2 separate regions of the Homo sapiens genome follow, and region 1 is linked to region 2. The links are contacts of gene promoters, found by promoter capture Hi-C in human tissues and cell types (Jung and others, 2019). All regions are on one chromosome and are shown on one strand. The core of a region is centred on a gene start or on the middle of the fragment in contact, and the rest is flanking DNA. Distances in the headings are between cores, read along the strand shown.

What was found. Contacts are between HindIII fragments. The study calls those that stand out against the background at their distance.
Region 1: a contact is called between a fragment that was not itself captured here and the fragment with the promoter of ZNF560 in region 2, in 9 of the 25 tissues and cell types used here (H1 embryonic stem cells, IMR-90 fibroblasts, aorta and 6 more).

Annotation. Positions count from the first base shown.
Region 1 is chr19:9,240,630-9,243,772 of GRCh38, forward strand. It overlaps a transcript of OR7E24 not described here. Among named protein-coding and RNA genes, the nearest start is that of OR7E24, 8.7 kb to the right of the region's middle. The HindIII fragment of the contact is 9,125 bases long and covers 1-3,143 here.
Region 2 is chr19:9,497,064-9,499,871 of GRCh38, forward strand. ZNF560 (zinc finger protein 560) reads right to left here and starts at 1,553. Exons shown (of 10, transcript NM_152476.3): 1 at 1,475-1,553; 2 at 1,065-1,152. The HindIII fragment of the contact is 15,358 bases long and covers 1-2,808 here.

The DNA.
Region 1 (3,143 bases), core at 371-2,870, 260 kb before region 2:
ATTTTGATAGAGAAAAGTTTTAAAATTTGATGAAGTTCAATATATCTATTTTTTTGTTTTGTTACTCATGCTTTCACTGTTGTATCTAACAATCTGCTTCCAAATAAAGTGTAATCAAGATATTCCTGTATGTTTTTTTCTAAGAGTTTTATGATTTTAGCTACATTATATTTAAGCTATTGACTTTTTATTTATTTATTTATTTTGAGACACAGTCTCTCTCTGTCACCCAGGCTGGAGTGCAGAGGTGTGATCTCGGCTCTCTGCAACCTCTGCCTCCCGGGTTCAAGTGATTCTCCTGCCTCAGCCTCCCAGGTAGCTGGGATTACAGGTGCCCGCCACCACGCCTGGCTAATTTTTGTATTTTTGATGGAGATGGGGTTTCACATGTTAGTCAGGCCGGTCTTGAACTCCTGACCTCAAGTGATCCACCCGCCTCGGCCACCCAAATGCTGGGATTACAGGCATGAGCCATTGCGCCAGGCCTGTTGATCTGTTTTTTATTTGATTTGATTTTTGTACATGGCAGAAAGTAGGGTTCAATCTACTTTCCTTTGCATCGAGTTTGTTCTTGGAAGGGTTTAGTTTGTTGTGCTGTGAAACACCTTATTAATAACATCCACTTGGCAGCAGAATGTGTTAGCCTAGGGTTCAATCTGTCTAAGTGGTGGTTGTCAGAGAGATCATTGGGTTTATAAAAAGGTCACAAAGGCAAGATTATGTTTGACAGAGCCCTGCTCATGAACATTCAGTTCCTCAGCAGACCAGCCTCTTGTCCATGACAGATCAAGGTCTCAGAACTAAGTGGATGTTGTAGGTCCATTAGGCAAATGTGAATTTAAATATCCCGGCTCGACCAGGCTTGGTGGCTCATGCTTGTAATCCCAGCACTTTGGGGGCTGAGGTGGGTGGATCACTTGAGGTCACGAGTTCAAGACCAGCCTGGCCAATGTGGTGAAACCCCATCTCTGCTAAAAATGCAAAATTAGCTGGGTGTGGTGGTGGGTGCCTGTAATCTCAGCTACTTGGGAGACTGAGGCAGGAGAATTGCTTGAATCTGGGAGGTAGAGGTTGCAGTGAGCTGAGATTGCGCCATTGCATTCCAGCCTGGGCGACAGAGTGAGACTTTGTCTCAAAAACAACAACTACAAAACTAAAAGAAAACAAGAAATAAATATCCTGGCTCTTTTTCTCCTGAAAATCACATGCTTCATTTTTACTCTTCCCAAAACACTTGTGATTTGGCTTTTGCTACATGTTTTTACTTTAGGTTCTCTCAGTAACTCCCTTGGTAATTTCCTTCTAACTTTTCCGTTTTATATACAGTCTTTAAAGTTCCATCTTTGGTCCATTTTCTTAGAGCCACTCTTGAGAGTTCTCACGTGTTGTTTGAAACACTTATCATATCGAGTGCTGATATGATGACATGCTTTCCTCAAAAATTACCCATTTGCATGTTAGCACCCTTCACCTAAACTTGGTTGTGTTCTTGTTTCCTCTGGAAGAAATTGGATGAAAATCATACAATAGTCAAGGCAACGTGTTTCCCTTTTAGGATTGTGCTTGTTGCTTTACATGTATGGCTTTATTTAATCCTGAAAACATTTCTTTCTTTTTGTTTTTGTTTTGTTTTGTTTTGAGACACAGTTTCACTCTGTCACCCAGGCTGGAGTGCCATGGCGCTATCTCAGCCCACGGCAACCACCTCCCGGGTTCAAGCAATTCTTGTGTCTCAGCCTCCCAAGTAGCTGGAATTATAAGTGTGCACCACCACACCTGGCTAATTTTTTTTGTATTTTTAGTAGAGATGGGGTTTTGCCATGTTGGCCAGGCTGATCTCAAACTCCTGACCTCAAGTGATCCACCTGCCTCGGCCTCCCAAAGTGCTGGGATTATAGGCATGAGCCACCACAGTTGGCCCTGAAAACATTTCTTTGACATGTCTTTTCTCATTCACCTTGTTCCACAAAGGAAGAAGCAGATAGAGGTGAACTATAACCTGGCAACTTGACGTTGAGACCACACTCCAACTTTGCTATCCTTTATTTCATAAGAACAGTGATGTGATTTTTCACATCAAATTAGGAATGTAGATTTGTAAGCTTGTTTGTTCTGATGATTCATAGTAATGAACTGCCTAGAATAACTGAGACGTTGCTTCCTTCTTTGTGATTATTCCTTTTCTTCCCTCCCTCCCTCCTTTTTTACTTTCTTCCTTTCCTCTTCTTTCTTCCCTCATTCCCTCCTCTTTCTTCCCTCATTCCCTCCTCTTTCTTCTCTCATTCCCTCCTTCCTTCTTGTCTTTCTTTCTTTCCTTCTTTATTTGACCTTTATTTCCCATAATTGCAGTTTTATGATCTAACCCCAGATTGTAGAACATGTAATAATTATACGATAGAAAAGATTTGTTCTCTCATATAGTTTAATTTTCTTCTGAGACTTTCTGGAGATGTCTTCAGGAATGGAAGCCACAGAATGTGGACTGTGTTTGGGATGCAGTTCACCCTTTTGATGAGAACTGGTAGAACTGGGTCTGCAGTGAAGGATGGGGTAGTAGATGGTGTCAGGGTTCATCCCACATCCCTAAGACCCTCCCGCCATCTCCACACACACCATCCTGTCTGCCAATGGTCAGCATCAGCTGAGGGATCCACTTTCCCCAATGCATGGTGGCAGAAAGGTAATGAATGCTTACAATTTTATGTTGCTCTGGCATTTTTTTTTTTTTTTTTGAGCCAGTGTCTCACAGTATTGTGCAGGCTGGAGTACAGTGGCTCACTGAAATCTTGAACTCCTGGGCTCAAGTGATCCTCCTCAGTCTCCCAAGTAGCTGGGACTACAGGCATGCATCATCACACCCAGTTAGGGGGTCTCTCTATGTGACTCAGGCTTGTCTTGAAATCCTGGCCTCAAACCAGGATTGGCCACCTTGGCTTCCTGAAGCACTGGGATTGTAGGTGTGAACCACTGCACCTGGCAGGCATCTATTTTGAATACAGGCTTAGCTTTCTGATGCTAGAGGCAGGGTTCCATTGCCTTTGACACAGTTTCCAATTCCACACCACCCTCAAATGGCTCAAGCTGGTGCAATTGTTGCTCCTTGCATCATCCTTTGAAAGTGCAAGTTGTAAAAGTTTATGGAT
Region 2 (2,808 bases), core at 303-2,802:
CAATATCATGCCACCGCACTCCAGCCTGGGCAACAAGGCAACATCCTGCCTCAAAAAAACTCTCAAAAAAAAAAAATCTTGAATAGAGCTCAGATCCAAAAACATTCCGTTATATTTTAGAAGAATTTGGAGAATTTTCATTTATTATACATAGTAAATATTAGATAACATTATTATTTTTAATTTTCTTGATGCAAATAGTATTACGGTTTTAGTAAAACAACACTCTTATCATTGAGTCAGGCATTACCCACTACTTAAATGTCGAGCTTACCATCCTGGCTATCACGGTGAAACCCCATCTCTACAAAAATACAAAAAATTATCCGGGCACGGTGGCACACCCCTGTAATTACAGCCACTTGGGAAGCTGAGGCAGGAGAATCGCTTGAACCCGGGAGGCAGAGGTTGCAGTGAGGCGAGATCGCGCCACTGCACTCCAGCCTGGGCGACACAGCTAGACCCCCTCTCAAAAAAAAAAAAAAAAAAAAAATGTCGAGCTTCATCTCTGCAATGAATTTCCCATTGACTCTCAAACTGTTCACCATAAAATTTATTTACGAGACGGCGAATACACAAAACGCTAAAAAACAGGTGCAGCTACAATGGATATTTATTCGTGGTACTGGATGGTCAACATACCCATAGGTTTAAGTTTTTTCGAAAAAAAATGCGGGAAAAATACACTTAGTACAGTCATCCTGTTAATGGTAAATTCGATTATTCTAGTATTAGTGTGTAAACCCTCCATCCTTTCTTCCAGGAAGCCTGGTTATGAAGCTCTTTGGAGACGTACAGAGCTAGGAACTTCAGATGAAAAGAATGGCTGAGTATTCTTAGGTTTCTTTAGTAGAAAGACTCGCGGTCTACAAACGTTTATATGCACATGCAGAAATACGCACACCCTAGACAACTAAGAAAGCACCTTTCTACCGGAACGTAATGTGTCAATAAAAAATATACAGGTTTCACAAAGGCAAAATGCCAAAATCTCACATGAAACACTCGTTTGCATAAAAAAGGAAGCAGCTGCCCCCTTAAACCAACTTTTTCCCAATGCTCACCCGAACACGGTGGAGTCGCCAGGTCCGTGGGGCTACAGGATCTTGGGGACGGAGTCAATCGAACGCGAACGGCAAAATTCTTTTCCCTCTGAAACACAATTCACAAACGTTGCCTTGGAGACTTATTTTTTAAGGCCTCAGAACGCTTGGACACTTTTGAAGACGGGAACACACGGCTGAAAACAGCCCTCGGACGCGCCCATACTGCACTTCCCACCCGGCTCCTCTAGGGGACCGAAGGTCCCAATGGCCTCTTCGACGTGGCCTCACCCGATGGCTCCGCGACTCCTGCGGACTCCTGTGGAGTGGTCCAGGCCTCTGTAAGGAGGTTCCTCGATTACCCTGGGTCGATTGTGACCTCTGCCACCCCCCGAAACACCGCCCAACCCACTAGTCCACACGAGCCTCACCAAAGTAGTGAACGACCAGACAACACAAAGGAAAAAGTGGCTCTGAGGAAACAGGCGCCAGCGACCAAAAGAGAGAACTGGCGCGCCGCAACGTCACTTCCGTTTGGGGCATTGGAAGGGGCGTGGCTCGTTGTGTGGGCAGTTGGACAGGATGGAACTCTTCAGGATTCTAGTTTCCCTCCGCGTGGGTGCGGAGGTATCAAGGGGTCGGCTCAGTGCCTGGGTGGGCAAGAGAGAAATGGACCCACAGAGAAAGGTGGGGGTTAAATCAGGGCTGTGGGCGGGGCCCATGCCCGGGGGCGGGGCTGGAGGTGGGACCAGACCCAGCCGGTGGCTTCGGTGGCAGAATGGACCAGGAAGGCGAAACGTCGGGCGATGGACTCGCCCCTCAGGATGCTCATTAGAAACTTTCCCCACGTTCCTGGACCCCTTTCAGGATTCTCTCCAGTTGATAACCTGCCAATCCACAAAATGGCCTGCTTCCTGCATTCGATCACGTCTTTAGAACTTTATTTTCTCTTATTTCTTTTTATTTATCTGACCTTGCTAAACTCTAATCATTGATTCCTCTGCGTTTTCAGTTATCGATACTTTCTGTAAATATTGCAATTTTTTTCTTTTCTTTCTTTTTTCTTTTCTTTTCTTTTTTTCTTCGAGGTAGGGTCTGGCTCGGTTGCCAAGGCTGGAATGCAGTGGTAGGAACACGGCTCACTGCAGTCTCCACCTCTCCAGGCTCAAGCCATCCTTCCACCTCAGCCTCCCGAGTAGCTGGGACCACGGGCGCACCGCACCCGGCTAATTTTTGTATTATTATTATTATCATCATTATTATTATTTTGTAGAGACAGGATCTAACCATGTTGCCCAGGCTGGTCTGGAACTCCTGGGCTCAAGTGATCTGCCCGCCCTGCACTCCCGAAGTGGGATTACAGGCGTGAGCCATCATGCACCATGCCTGGCCTTATTGTATTTTTTTTTCTTCTTCAACAATGTATTTGTTACTATTTCTCAAATCTTATCAAATGATTCAAAGCCTCCTGTACTACTTTATGAAATAACACTGATACCAGGCATTCTTCACTTATTCTGTGCAGAAAAAGAAAGGACTGTTGGACTTGTGGTAGAGATTTAGTTGAATCTTCGGGTTATATTGGTATCTTTATAATACTGAGTCTTCCTATGTGTGAATATACAATATCTCTCTATTTAGGTCTTCTTTAAACTCTTTCAGTAATGTTTTGAAATTTTCAGTTTACAAATATTTTACCTCTTGGGGTAAAGTTATTCCCATGTAACTTATTTGTAAAAGGGATCACATTCTCAGTTTCCTTTTC